Linked DNA regions of Homo sapiens: regions 1, 2, 3 and 4 are each linked to region 5. The links are contacts of gene promoters, found by promoter capture Hi-C in human tissues and cell types (Jung and others, 2019). All regions are on one chromosome and are shown on one strand. Each heading gives the region's core, a stretch centred on a gene start or on the middle of the fragment in contact. The rest is flanking DNA. Distances are from core to core; before and after follow the strand shown. Region 1 overlaps BMPR1B (bone morphogenetic protein receptor type 1B). Region 2 overlaps BMPR1B (bone morphogenetic protein receptor type 1B). Region 3 overlaps PDLIM5 (PDZ and LIM domain 5). Region 4 overlaps BMPR1B (bone morphogenetic protein receptor type 1B). Region 5 holds the start of BMPR1B (bone morphogenetic protein receptor type 1B).

Evidence for each region. The method cuts DNA at HindIII sites, captures the fragments that hold promoters and counts their contacts. A contact is called where the count stands out against the background at its distance.
Region 1: a contact is called between a fragment that was not itself captured here and the fragment with the promoter of BMPR1B in region 5, in 1 of the 25 tissues and cell types used here (mesendoderm cells).
Region 2: a fragment that was not itself captured here is called in contact with the fragment with the promoter of BMPR1B in region 5 in 1 of the 25 tissues and cell types used here (mesendoderm cells).
Region 3: a fragment that was not itself captured here is called in contact with the fragment with the promoter of BMPR1B in region 5 in 1 of the 25 tissues and cell types used here (mesenchymal stem cells).
Region 4: a contact is called between a fragment that was not itself captured here and the fragment with the promoter of BMPR1B in region 5, in 2 of the 25 tissues and cell types used here (dorsolateral prefrontal cortex and mesenchymal stem cells).

Annotation. Positions count from the first base shown.
Region 1 is chr4:94,970,299-94,972,998 of GRCh38, forward strand. The region is part of intron 2 of BMPR1B (bone morphogenetic protein receptor type 1B); the gene reads left to right. Among named protein-coding and RNA genes, the nearest start is that of BMPR1B, 210 kb to the left of the region's middle. The HindIII fragment of the contact is 6,540 bases long and covers 1-2,700 here.
Region 2 is chr4:94,888,548-94,891,247 of GRCh38, forward strand. The region is part of intron 2 of BMPR1B (bone morphogenetic protein receptor type 1B); the gene reads left to right. Among named protein-coding and RNA genes, the nearest start is that of BMPR1B, 130 kb to the left of the region's middle. The HindIII fragment of the contact is 3,317 bases long and covers 1-2,700 here.
Region 3 is chr4:94,627,405-94,630,104 of GRCh38, forward strand. The region is part of intron 8 of PDLIM5 (PDZ and LIM domain 5); the gene reads left to right. Among named protein-coding and RNA genes, the nearest start is that of BMPR1B-DT, 130 kb to the right of the region's middle. The HindIII fragment of the contact is 4,743 bases long and covers 1-2,700 here.
Region 4 is chr4:94,997,470-95,000,169 of GRCh38, forward strand. The region is part of intron 3 of BMPR1B (bone morphogenetic protein receptor type 1B); the gene reads left to right. Among named protein-coding and RNA genes, the nearest start is that of BMPR1B, 240 kb to the left of the region's middle. The HindIII fragment of the contact is 3,089 bases long and covers 1-2,700 here.
Region 5 is chr4:94,756,528-94,759,227 of GRCh38, forward strand. BMPR1B (bone morphogenetic protein receptor type 1B) reads left to right here and starts at 1,428. Exons shown (of 13, transcript NM_001203.3): 1 at 1,428-1,541. It overlaps BMPR1B-DT (BMPR1B divergent transcript), which reads right to left and starts at 1,006. Exons shown (of 3, transcript NR_121610.1): 1 at 867-1,006. The HindIII fragment of the contact is 6,502 bases long and covers 1-2,700 here.

The DNA.
Region 1 (2,700 bases), core at 26-2,525, 210 kb after region 5:
CTCTTCTTTCTCTCTCTCTTTCTCTCTTTTTCTCTTTCGGAGTTTCACTCTCTGTCACCCAGGCTGGAGTGTGGTGGCACGATCTCGGCTCACTGCAACCTCTGCCTCGTGGGTTGAAGCTATTCTCCTGCCTCAGCCTCCCGAATAGCTGGGACTACAGGCGCGCCACCATGCCCTGCTACTTTTTGTATTTTTAGTAGAGACAGGGTTTCGCCCTGTTGTCAGACTGGTCAAGAACTCCTGACCTCAGGCAATCTGCCTGCCTTGGCCTCCCAAAGTACTGGGATTACAGGCATGAACCACCACACCCGGCCTGTTCATTTCTGTTTTAAAGTTTTTTTTATTTTTAATTTTTATGGGTACATAAAAGTTGTACATATTTATGGGGTATATGTGATATTTTGATAGCATCACACAATGTGTAATGATTAAATCTCAGTAATTGGGATATATATCACCTGAAACACCTATCATTTCTTTGTTTTGGGAACATTCCAAATCTTCTCTTCCAGCTATTATGAAATATGCGATGATTGTTGACTATAGTTGCTTCATCCTGCTACTGAACACTATTTTTTTTATAGCCCTTTAAGTTACATTTTTTTGGATGAACTCTTTAAATTCATTAAAATCAACTACCCACTATTTAATTGCTCCTAAGACACACAGTCTTAATACATTTTACAGTCACTGAATTTGGGATTTGTCCTAATGACATCATACAACAATTGAAGCTTTTTTCCCTTTCAGTGCTACCTAAAATGGTGGTGCAGCAATATCAATAATGATTTTTACATTTGATGAATTACTTATGTTTCAATGTTTTGGAAACTGGCACTCAGTTTCAGTACTTGTGAAATAAGAGAACTGGACCATGAAATACGATAAATAAAAACAACTTTTTTCCCTCTAGTAATGGATGTGTTTTAGATGAGTTAAGTTTCACTTGAGTGGAAAAAAATATGAGTAGGTCTATTGCTTGGAAAAGAGTGTATCCCATTGGCATTTGACAACATATGTATTAATTGAATTAATCACTGCTAAAAATAAAACCTACTAAGGGTATGTTATTATTTTACTTGTCACTTTAAGGAAAAATAGTTCGGTCTCATCATCTGTCACCCATGTCAGTTAATTGTAGTGCTAAGTTTCATATTACAATAAAAGTGTGATGGTTAAACATACAATATTTTAATTTAATTCAGAGGTGCCTCAATTGCAGGCAGTGCTCACTCTCTACTTCTCTTCCTGATCTTAGCTTGTCATCATAAAGATCAAATCTAATAACTCTTTTTCCTCTTACTGCTTATTTATTGATAGACTTACTCCTTTAAATATTTAATATTACTAGAATATTTAAGATTTTTAAAATAAAATATGAGCTTTTTAAGCATCTAGTATCTTCATCTATAAATTTCAAGATTAATCTAAATTTTATTAGCAGTAAAATATCTCATTAAATACGTTTATGACCATGAAATTGGAAGTTTGGACAGTTTATTTCTTATATACTCCTATAATTTTAAACTAATATAGGTAGTTTCTCTCCTTAAATTTTTCATGTTCAAGACAAAGATGCTATAAATAAAAGTTGTAGAAGTATAGTATCTTATTTAAAAGTAATGATGAGCCTCTTAAATGATTCCAAGGCCATTTAATTTTGACATTACATTGTATTTATGTTGATGGTTTGAGTGATCATTTGATATAAATTTGTTCTGAGAATCAATAAAGGAAATAGAGGAACTAATTATTCAAACTTAATAGTATCATTGCAAATTATAGTATGTACAAAATTCTTATTTACCTCTTAATAGTCTGCTTATTTTTTCTACAATAAATGATGCGGTAAAGGAAAACTATAATCAATTCACTGGATAACATGAACTCTTCTCTTCTTTACAGAGTATTTTGGGGAGAATAAAATCTACTTAAAATATATAATTTGTGTTCAATTTCTTCTCTTGCTAGCTGTAACATTAGCTAACTTGTTTATTTGCTCTTTAAAAAGATAACTTTATTATGACTTTTAAATAAATGTATACTCATTTTAATACATTTGAAAAACATAGACACTATAAGGGAAAAATGAAATATTCATTAGTTCTATTACTTGATACAACCACAGATAACATTTTGGTTAATTTTTTTTTCATTACTTTTCCTAGGTGTACATACCCATACATGTTCATAATATTATATTGTATGTGTTTCTGTAATTTGATTTTGTAATACTCTTATGTTTTACCTTGAACTTATCTCAGGTTTCTAAATTTTACTTTAAACATTTGCATAATATTTCATCATTGGTCACTTAGGTTTCTTCCATTTTTTTTTTGGTCTTATAAGTGGATATAATTATCAGTGAACATGACAGTGGAAAGAGTACGAACTTTAGAGTCAGACCTATGCAAGTTTCAGCTCTGGATATAACTGTTTCTGGATTTGTAACTTTATGCTATTCAGTTTCTCCATTCATAAAATAGAGATAATGCTGGCCTTAAATTATTTAAATATTAGAATTATTATGGTAATGAAGCAGGGTATTTTCTTGACACCTTCAAGGGACTCAGGACAGGGGTGCCTCATTTATTCAGCCTGCCCCTGTCTACCCCTTGTGAGAGGGAGTGTGTGAGCAAACGAGTGCTGGAACCAGAGCGAGTGCTTTTGGGTGTTGGCAGGAACAAACTCCATTTACTT
Region 2 (2,700 bases), core at 114-2,613, 130 kb after region 5:
ATTTAATTTTTTCACAATTATAAGAGTTGGGTGCTGATATTGATCATTTTACAGATAAGGAAACTAAAGCAGAGAGAGATTAAATAGTACCTTGGTCCAAAGCTGGTAAGTGATGAAGCTGGGATTGAGGCAAAGGAAGGCTGACTGTAAATTTTTGCTTGCACCCATAAACTAAGTGACCCAGTAACCTGACTTTTCTAGGCTAGTCCCAATTGCAGATATTTTGTTGTATGATTATTTACATGGTAGGAAATTATTTTATCAATTTTATTGTTAGAAATGCTATTAATGATATACTTCTAATATATCATGATATATCATAATGATATATCTCCAAGGAAATCATATCTCTAAGGAAACCATTGTTTCTTACACTGGAAAAGCAAGACACTATAAAAACATTCTAAAATTTGTAATACATAATATAAAATTTCAATAGTTTTTATAAATGAGATACAGGTTTTAAGAGTCTTATTTTTTCTTATTTTAAATATATACTGGAGCCTCAAAGAACCAGAAAGAAATTTATAATAAAGAGGAATAGGATGTCAGTACCAGGAGCCTCTTGCTGGGGATCCAAGAGAGGCCTCCTAATTAATTTTTATTGTAAATTTTAACAATGGCGATGTTTCAAATGTGTTATCTAAAAGGGAACTTAATGGAGTTTTAATAGTGATATTTTATTTTTTGTCTTCCTATATTTTTATCGTAATTTGCCTGTGATTAACATTTTTTCCAGTAATAATACTGCAAAATAAAATATCTAGAATTAATCTTGTATATGATAAGCATTTTCTGAGCCAAACATTTCTAGGCCCTGCGTCAACTCTGTAGTATCTCTGTTTTTCAGATAAAGAAACGGATGCTCTAATTGACAAAGTGAAAACAAGTTAAGATTGAAATTGGGGTTTGTACAACTCCAGAGCTCATGCATGTTCTCTCTGTACTGCTGTAGTTTTAATTCTTTCTCAAAAGGTGTTTATCAAAAACAAATAAAAGGTGTTGTGCTTTGTTTTGATATGAGCGGAAGGGCTCATTAGTTCTGTGCCTCCTTCCTTTTTTCATTGCTCCTGCTGTCCTGCAGAGAACTTTCCCATGCAGAATAGCCATAATATACCACAGCCTTCATGTTCCAAAAAGGGAAACCTGAGAAGGAGCCACAGTCTTCCTGCAGGCAACAGATGGTTACTGTTTAAATGAGGGTAAACTCTGGATCTCATCTGTGAAGTGACTCTAGGTTTTTTGGGTGGGTGGTTTGGGGAGTTAGGTCAAAGGAACAAGCTAGTAACAAGATTTAGGAGGAGGAGGAAGAAGAAGTAAACACACCAAATTTGTCTGTAGCTTTTTTTGCCCTTATATACTCTTTAATCATAGTCACATGGCAGGTTGTATTTTTCTGACCCCTCCTCTACCCCAAATAGAGGGAGAGGAATGAAGGGAGGGCATGGCAGGCTGTTGAAATTTGTAGTGTGTTGGCATCTAGCAAGTGCGTTTTGCTGTGGGGTAAGTTCTGTGGCTTGTTTTCTGTCTTCGTGAATAGAGCCTTTCCAACTTTGCCAAGCCTACAGTTAATGTGGTCAAGGGATTTATTATGAAATGTACTAAATCTTGGCGTGGAGCTAATTGCATATAACAAGAAGCCTGCTAGAGGCTTGGACCTGAGAAGTGACACATGCAAAAAGCATTCTCTTTCTGATGCTGCTGAAAGAGGTTTTGTGTAGGGGAATGTCTGCATGTCTGCACTTATTGCTAATGAGGTAACCCCCTCTCCCCCAAAGCTTATTTCTGAGTTACTTGTTAAATAAATGTAAAATTCTCTCTCTCTTTCCTTCTTCCCACTTTTATGAACAATTGGCAATTGAAGAATTGATATTTATTTACTAACTCCACTTCCAAACCTCTTAATATTATAAAAATACATTTGTGGCTGTAAATTACATGAGTGTAATTATGACCTAGAATAATTCTAATGTAAAAGTATAAAAGTCAATCAGAGAAGTTGTACTAGTCTTCTTGGGCTGCCGTAACGAAATACTTTAGAGTGGGTGGCTTAAACAACAGAAGTTTATTTTTTTCCACAGTTCTGGAAGCTGAACGTTTAAAATCAGGATGCTAACATGGTTGGATTCTGGTGAGGTCTCTCTTTCTAGCTTACAGACTGCCACCCTCTTACAGCGTCCTTACGTGGTGAAGAGAGACAGTGCATGCTCTCTGGTGGCTCTTCTTGTAAGGGCACTAATCCCATCATGAGGGCCCCATCCTCATGATCTCATGTAAACCTAGTTACCTCCCAAAGGCTCCATTTCTGAGTACCATCACATTGGGGGTTAGGACTTTGGAATATGAATTGGGGATGACACAATTCAGTCCATAGCAGAAGTGGTTAAAGGAAAGGACCAACATTGCATTTTTTTTAGTTCAGCATGTGCCCCTAAAACTTAATTTATTTTAAAATGTAGTTGGAAAATAGTAATTGGAAAACAGTTTTTTAACCTTTTCTATTGTTGCAATTTTGTTGTCTATATCTTCTCATAGCTTTATTGAGATATTATCTTTATATTTCTCACAATATCCTAATATGTGCATTGTACATAGTAAGTGGTTAGTATTTGTGTGGTACATTAAACACTTAATAGCTTGTTTGGTAACTTAAACACTTTCCCACTATACATTCCACTTACATCTTATTGCTGAAATGTA
Region 3 (2,700 bases), core at 15-2,514, 130 kb before region 5:
TCTCCCCATTTTCTTCTCTTTCTGAGATTAAAATATTAAACTTTTTATAAGGCAGACATCTACATTTGTTCATATATGCTTTTCATAAAGAATTGTTCTATTAATTGATGCATATGGTTTAAACCAAAGTTTGGCAAATGGTGTTCCTTGGTCACATCTGGCCCACCACTGATTTTTGTGAATGAAGTTTTGTTGGAAAACAGCTACGGTACGGTTGTTTACGTATTGTTTATGGCTGATTTCATGCCACAATGGCAGAGTTGAATATTGCAAGAGTCTGTAAGGCCCACAAAGCCTAAAATATTTATTCTCTGGCTCTTTACAGAAAAAGTTTTGTTAACACTGGTTTTCAAACGCATGAATAAGAATAACAATGCTTGATAATTCTGCATGGTTAGTTGCAGACTTTATTGACAGCCATCAGCACCCTTGGTAGCACTAGTCCTGAGATACTGTGATTGCCTATTTGCTTGTCTGTAGTGTCTTTAAGAAGATAAACTCTTTCTGGGCAGATATCTTATCCTTAAATGTATCTTCCACACCAGAAGAATTCTTACATCTAAAACGTTGTATGTACTAAGTAGTTGTTGAATGAGTGGATGTTTTATTTTTTAACTATGTAAGATCTTATGTCAGAGTGTAATAATAATTGACATGTATGAAGCATTTCTTACAGATTCAAGGAAGTATAAGTAAACACTTTTACTACTTCATTGAATCCTCTCACCCTTTGAGGTAGTTATTATTGCTGTTTTACAGATGAGGTAACTTAAGACCCAGAATGATGACATTTCTAACATCACAGCTAGAAAGCCCAGAACTAGGAGCCTATGTATCTTGAAATTTAGTTTTTATGCTAGATGTGCTGCTTCTTCCACCATAAAATAGCTGACCTACCATCTCTGCTTTTAAAAGATGCTAAATTCAAACATAACTTTGAAAAATGATAAAGTATCATTTATTTTGGAGAGCTAATGACTTTAATTGAGAGATATCTTAGAGAATTAGTGGTAGTAATAGAAATTTAAGGAGTATCCCAATTTTTAAATTTTACAATAACTTGTATTCATCATTAGAGACGTTGTAGATATTGACATTGAGAAATCTTAAAATATCTCTTTTTTTTTTTCCTGCTTCATTTTTTTTCCCCTACATGATTAGAACTCTATTTATGTGGTCAACTTAAACTGTAGGTACCTTTCTCCTTCATTTCTGAAATTAGGCTGCTTTCTTATTTGTATAAATAGTTGAAAATTGGTGGGAAAATGGTAAAAGCCAAACCCATGTAGCTTTCGTGTGACTTTGGAAGTAAGACATGTCAGAACTCTAGACATAATATGAGTATAAAATGATTTTAATGTATGTCCTTATGGTTTTCTCATCCAAATATGAGCAAAATTGTACAAATTTAATATTTTAAATATATTCTAAGCTTACAAAGTCTGCATGAGTTTACCATTGATCCTCTTTAGTATTCCTGAGGTCATGCATTATGTCTCAGTTTTGTTTTGTTTTTTTAATATTTCAATTTTATTCTTTTTTATTTCTTTTCCTTTTTTTAAGAAAATGAAGCCCATTGGCCTCCTACAATAAAAGCATAGACTTGTCTTCCCACTCTAAGTAGAAAATGGAACAGTGATATTAAGATGATTTAGAAGATTCTGGGCCAGGCACAGTGGCCCATGCCTGTAATCCCAGCACTTTGGGAAGCCAAGGCTGGCAGATCATTAGGTCAGGAGATTGAGACCATCCTGGCTAACATGGTGAAACCCGATCTCTATTAAAAATACAAAAATAAGCTGGGCGTGGTGGCGTGTGCCTGTAGTCCCAGCTACCTGGGAGGCTGAGGCAGGAGGATTGCTTGAACCTGGGGGGCGGAGGTCACAGTGAGCCGAGATCGCGCCACTGCACTGTGCGAGACTCAGTTTCAAAAAAAAAAATAAAGAAAGAAAGAAAATTCTGTGTGTATATTGTGGTAAATAATTTGTTGACTTAATTGAATGCTGGTAGAACCAGATATGTTAAGATCTCATATCTTTATCTTCAGGGTACATACTGGGTTGCTTTTACTTGTATCTCTGACCAAATGGAAGTTTTCTATATAAGATCAGCTAGGAGAAAAAGGCATGAATTTTGGTTATGTGTGATATAAGAAATTAAAAAGAGAAATGAACATAATCCAAGTCCCCACACTCACTTTAATTAAGATATTGTAGATCCAGTTTAATCTGCGTTCTTAAAGTTGAAAGGCTGGTTGCTAATGGAAGAAGCTAGCCTCCTGAAGATGTGGAAATATTTGATACTTAGACTTGGGTGCACCTGTTCCAGTGCTTTATAGCAAACATACCAGCATTCTCCACTGCTTAGAGAAATGGTAATAGTTTAATCTGTCCAATTTGCTTTTAATCACTGATTTCATTTTTTAAAAATTGCACAATCGTCTCCAGAATGTACTTTCCTCTGATCCCAGATCTTGGCTTAACTGTCTCCATTTCTGTTGGATATGATTTCATGCCTGGATTATGAAGAGTAGACTATTGTTTAGGCTTTCAGCATAAGGAGCTTGACAGACAAAATGCACATATTCTTTGCTTCTGTTGGCCACCATCTGTTTGAGATGGCTGGGGAAGGGGCAGAGAAGAAAGCACTTGCTGCACACAATAGTATGCAAGCATGTTGCCATGACTGCTACCCAATTTA
Region 4 (2,700 bases), core at 140-2,639, 240 kb after region 5:
TCACTTTTGTTGAATGCGTATATAACTTTTCAAATGATGCAAAATGTTTCAAAATTAATTTTATTACTTCAGAAATACCTTAAGGCTAATCTAATTGATAGCTTAAACTGTATTTTAACATTCATTTAATGCTTGTTTTATCATGTGAATCTTTGTACTTCTTCCAATTCTGCCTACCATTTCCATTTTATTAGTGGGTTTGATTTAGATTTTTGACAATATCTTTATTTTGAAAATACAACCATGATTGATCTAGAATGGGCATTTCCCAGTTATAGAATCTAACTGGCTAAGTTCATCAATCAATTTTTATTTGCTTTTGCCTTTGAGTAATATCTCATGATCAAGATTGTAATTTCAGATTTTTATTCAGTATCTTTTATTTTTTGCTTTATATTTTGCATAAATACTAGCATGATAATTGCTTTCTTACCCCTTTTTATTGGTTTTGTTTTTATTCCTTCTGGTGTCTTGTTTCTGAAGTACCTTGTTGAAATTTGGGCAGAAAACAAGGCAAGCAAATAAAGAACTACAATAAGAAGAAACTAAAGAAAGTTTTCCTTTAAATCAAGAAGAAATACAAAATTGTGACACTGGTTGATAATGTCTACATTAGGATGTATTTTGTTTGAAGACTGGTTGAGTGTTTTAAAACTTGAAATGCCTTGTCAGTATTATTTTTGGCTCTGTAGTCCATCCTGACATTGGTTATCATATTTATAAATAATATTTTATATGCAGGTATATTATACAAAATGAAAATGGCACCTTTTGTATTATGTGTTAAGTATCTATTGAAGCAATGTGAATGAATTTAGCTTGAAATATTAATATTAGCCTCCTCATGGATCTCACTGCCCTAGAGTCATATTTGTTCTACTAGTAGTCCAGCTGCTACACTACTCCTTTTTTTTTTTTTTTGAGATGGAATTTCAATCTTGTTGCCCAGGCTGGAGTGCAATGGCGCGATCTTAGCTCACTGCAACCTCCGTCTCCTGGGTTCAAGCGATTCTCCTGCCTTAGCCTCCCGAGTAGCTGGAATTACAGACATGCGCCACCATTCCCAGCTAATTTTGTATTTTTAGTAAATATAGGGTTTCTCCATGTTAGTCAGGCTGGTCTCAAACTCCTGAGCTCAGGTGATCTGCCTGTCTCGGCCTCCCAAAGTGCTGGGATTACAGGTGTGAGCCACCACGCCCAGCCTGCTGCATTACTTTTAGAAGGGTCAATCTTCCACCCTGATGAACCCATTGCTTTTAATCTAAAACCCTCCCATCCCTGTCTTTCTACTGCTTATAGATAAAGACCAGGCTTTACTATGAGTCTCTTGTTCATATACCTTCTACTTTTGTTCTATATTAATCTTCTGCCGTTCCTTTTGGGCTGTTGTCTGTATCTCTCTTGCCCATCCATGAGAATATTCCCCTTTCTCTCCATTTTATTTGCTGGCAGTATTCAACATCTCCTATTTCTCAAAACAATCCACATTGCATTGCTTTTTTCTTGTATCATTTATGCTGTTCTATCTTGAAAACCCTTTTCCCAATCTTTGCCTTCTAGCCTGAATGGAGAAAGTCCTGCTGGTCTAATCTCAGACTCTGTGACTTGGCCTCCTGTATAAATCTCTGTCCCAGTACTTTGCAAAGCTTGGTAATATAGTGTTTTATGTTTTTGTTTCTGCCTGAGACTGTAATCTATTTATGGCCAGATTTTTAAATTTAATTCTTTTATGCTTCCCCAAGACCTAGCATATAACAAGTGTCCCAGAATTTGAAGTAAACAAAAACTTTATCATACTTATTTTAAACATAATTTTCTTTATACCCCTTTCACTTTAAAATATTTTACAATTTTGATTCATTAGATTGAAGGAAAGCCTCTCAAGTAGATGGTACATATTGGTAATAATAATTAAAAAATTATTTTGTTTCTTTTTCTAGGACCAATCAGTGTTGTGCGTGTGTGTGTGTGTGTGTGTGTGTAACCATGAAAATAGATATTTGCTGAACTCATAAGTTTATTTGGGTAACAAGAGTCAAAATGATATTGGTTAGCAAATAAAAATTCAGGATACATATTCCAAAAATGCTGTTTATGTAATTAATTTGGTGAAGTCTGTCAAAAAAACCAGCTAGTTGCTGTGGCCGTGTTGACTGCTGTGGTAAATTAAGTGATGCCCTAGCAAACTAAAGACAGTGTCATGCCTTCCAAAAGGCCCAGAGAGAGCTTCAGGAGAGAATAGGTCCATCCTCATGTAGCCGGGAGAATTGCAGAATGAAATTGCTCCCAGTATTACTAGTAAACCTTCAAATTTCATTTACTGGGGCAGAGATAGTTCGGGTTTTAAGGAAATAATAGAAAATCATGGTCTGAAAATTCTCAAACCTGAAAGGTGATATTCCATTTCAGGCAGAAGAAGAAGTTGCTCCTCAAAATAGAAATGTTGAAAGAGAAGGAAGTTGACGTTTAAAAAAAGTAGTTGTGAAATAGCAGCTGTTTCTTTTAGCTCTGATATTCAATAAAAATAAAATTTATTTTGCCTTTAATTGTATTTTATTTGCCCATCATACATAAAAGTACTTACATTATATATGAAATATTGTATATATCAGGAACAAGTGTAAAGCTTCATGAACAATTTGGAGTGACTTATAGTTTTCTTAATTTAATTATTTTTACTTTAGTGTGCTCTACCAGCAG
Region 5 (2,700 bases), core at 178-2,677:
TGGCATTAGAAATCACAATGCAGATATATCATGGGGCAAAAAGACCTTTGTGGAGACTCTAACATTGCTTTTATAGAAAAAACATGACCACATCTTCATACACTCAATAAACACTGGGGGCACCGCCTGCTTTAAGTGCAAGCTGCATAAAATAAATTGATACACAAATGAATTTTTTATTGATAAGTGCAAAAAGATTACATTTAATGTTTAAAAAAGATTTAATAGAAACAATTTAAGAAAAGGGAGTAGTTGAAAGAAAATAGTAGGCTAAGAATTGAATATAGAAATAGATATGAAGAAAATTGGAAGAAAGTTACTTCAGGGTGAAAAACTGTTAAAAAAAAAAATGACTTAGATCACACACTTGGTGGTGACCAGAGACTGTTTGTCAATATTTTGGAGGAAAAAAATTTTACAGAAGGAGAAAATAAGTAATGCTGGAGAGTGGGAAGCTGAAAGGTATTGAAAGGAAAAGAGTATTTGGAAGTCACGAGATATCTCCCTGGGAAATAGAGTTGGCAAAATGGCTGATTTTAAAGAGGTTAACTATTCTCCCCAAATTTCTGACTGTGAACTAGCTTACTTTATATTTACCCACTTAGAAAGTGTTTCAACACTTAAAGACTTAGCAAGGAGACCACAAAGTATAAGACGTTACATACTTTTCCAAAAGAAACACGACTAACTGTAAACTGTCATCAAATACAAATGGAATGGGTTTTCTCTTTTGGGTTTTATTTTTTTATTTTTAATTTTTTGGTGGTTGTTTTCGTTTAACGGTTTCAAAAAATATGTAGAAGGGAAATATTTCATTTCCCTTGGACGCTCAACTGTATATATTTCAAGATTCTTAAAACCCCCACCTCAAACTGCAGGCTTAATTTTAATGTGTTCATTTTTTACAAGGTGTGTCAACGTTTTATCAATTTCTGAAAAGTGTCTATGGCCCCGAAAAGTTGAAATCCACGACATTATATCATCTCTGCGAGCCCTTTCCAGCTCTCAAGGTACAATAATTCCACGAATCTTTGTTCTTCAAACCAGGAGGTTTTCTGGAAACCTTCTTAAACAACCAGGACAGGACCCATGAGGGAAATCTTGGGGATGCTCTGAGCAGCGGACGGGGCTTGGGAAGCGCACCCCTGTACCCGGGCTGCCTCCGGCCCGCACCCCGCCGCTCCCCAAGTCGGCTCCGCACTCCGCACACAGGCGGCGGCGCTGGGGCCGCTCCAAGTGCGTTGAGAAGTGTAATCCCTCCGCTAAGTACTTGGCTCTCAGTCTCCAATCACTAGTGGGAGCTGGAGAGGGCAAGTGAAAAAAAAAAATTCCAGAGGCAGCCGAGGAGCGAGAGGGAAAAAAAAAAAAAAAAAAAAAAAAAGTCCCGCGGTGGCGGCGGCGGCGGCGGCGGAGCGGCCGCGGCGGCCAGAAGTTGACGGCGCAGCCGGGCGCGGGGCGCGGAGTCGGCGGGGCCTCGCGGGACGCCGGGCAGTGCGGAGACCGCGGCGCTGAGGACGCGGGAGCCGGGAGCGCAGCCGCGGGTAAGGCGCGCGCGGCGGGGCCCCGTCCCCTGCGGGTGGCCGAGTTCCCGAGCGCGCGGGAGGCGGCCGAGCCGGCGAGAGCCGGGCAGAGCGAGGGGCGGCGCGGGACGGGTAGCGGCTGGGTGCGGAGCTGGGCGGCGGTCGCCCTAGGCAGGACGGAGCGCGCGAGGGAGAGGGCGAGAGCGAGGGCGGGCTGCGCGGCCGTGGGGCGGTGGCGGCGGCGGGGAGGGGGTCAGGCGGTGGCCGCCTCGGCTTTGTGCGCGGGCGGCTCTGCCGGGACCCCGAGGCCTCGTGCCTGCGCAGGCGAGGAGTCGGGGCAGCGGCGGCGGCGGGCGGGACACGTGCTTCGGGCTGTAGGGACGCCCCAAGGCAGGGAGTCGGACCTGCGAGCGGAGGGATGGGGCGGGAGGGCGAGCTGAGGGCAGTCGCGGAATCCGGGAAATGGGAGGGAGCCCGGCGGGGCGGGGGCCCAGGGCCAGCCCAGGCGGGACCCGCAGGCACCCACCTGCCCCGGACGCCTCCCGAGACCCAGCCTTGCCGTGGGGGAAAGTGCGCAGCGGGCTGGTCCCGGCGCCTTGGACTGGGCTCCGTCTCTGCTTCAGTTGCCTGTCTCTTCTCCTCTCTCTCCTGCTTCTCTCTCTCTATGCCTCTCTCTCAAGTTCTGGGTCTTTCATTCTCTCCCTTTTCTTCCTTTCTCCCTTCCTCTCCTTATTGCTATCCTTTGCCTCTCCCCCCGGTCTCTCTTTCCTTCCGTGCGTCTGTCTCCCTCTCCCCACCGCCTGCTCTGGCTCTCCCAGTGTGTCCCTCCTCTGTCCCTTCATCCTCTTCCCTCTGTCACTTTCGCACAATCTTTTGGTCTCTCTCTCTCTCTCAAGAGGCTTTCGCTCCCGGTCTTCCTGGCTCCCCTGTCTCTTGCTCTCTGCGCCCATCTCTCTGCTCGTCCCTCTTTCTGTCCAGGCTCCGTGTTTCCGCCTGTGTTTGGCGGTGTTGGAGAAGAGCCTCTGGAAGTTGTCCGCTGTGGTGCGGGTCTTACTTCTTTAGAGCTGCACCCCTCCAGCTGGGTCCTGCTGTTTGTTCTGAATGGAAACGCTGCAGTTCCCTTGAGTTATTAGAAACTGCTCTTTTCTTAGCCACCTTTCCAGCAAGGTGAGGTCAGTGA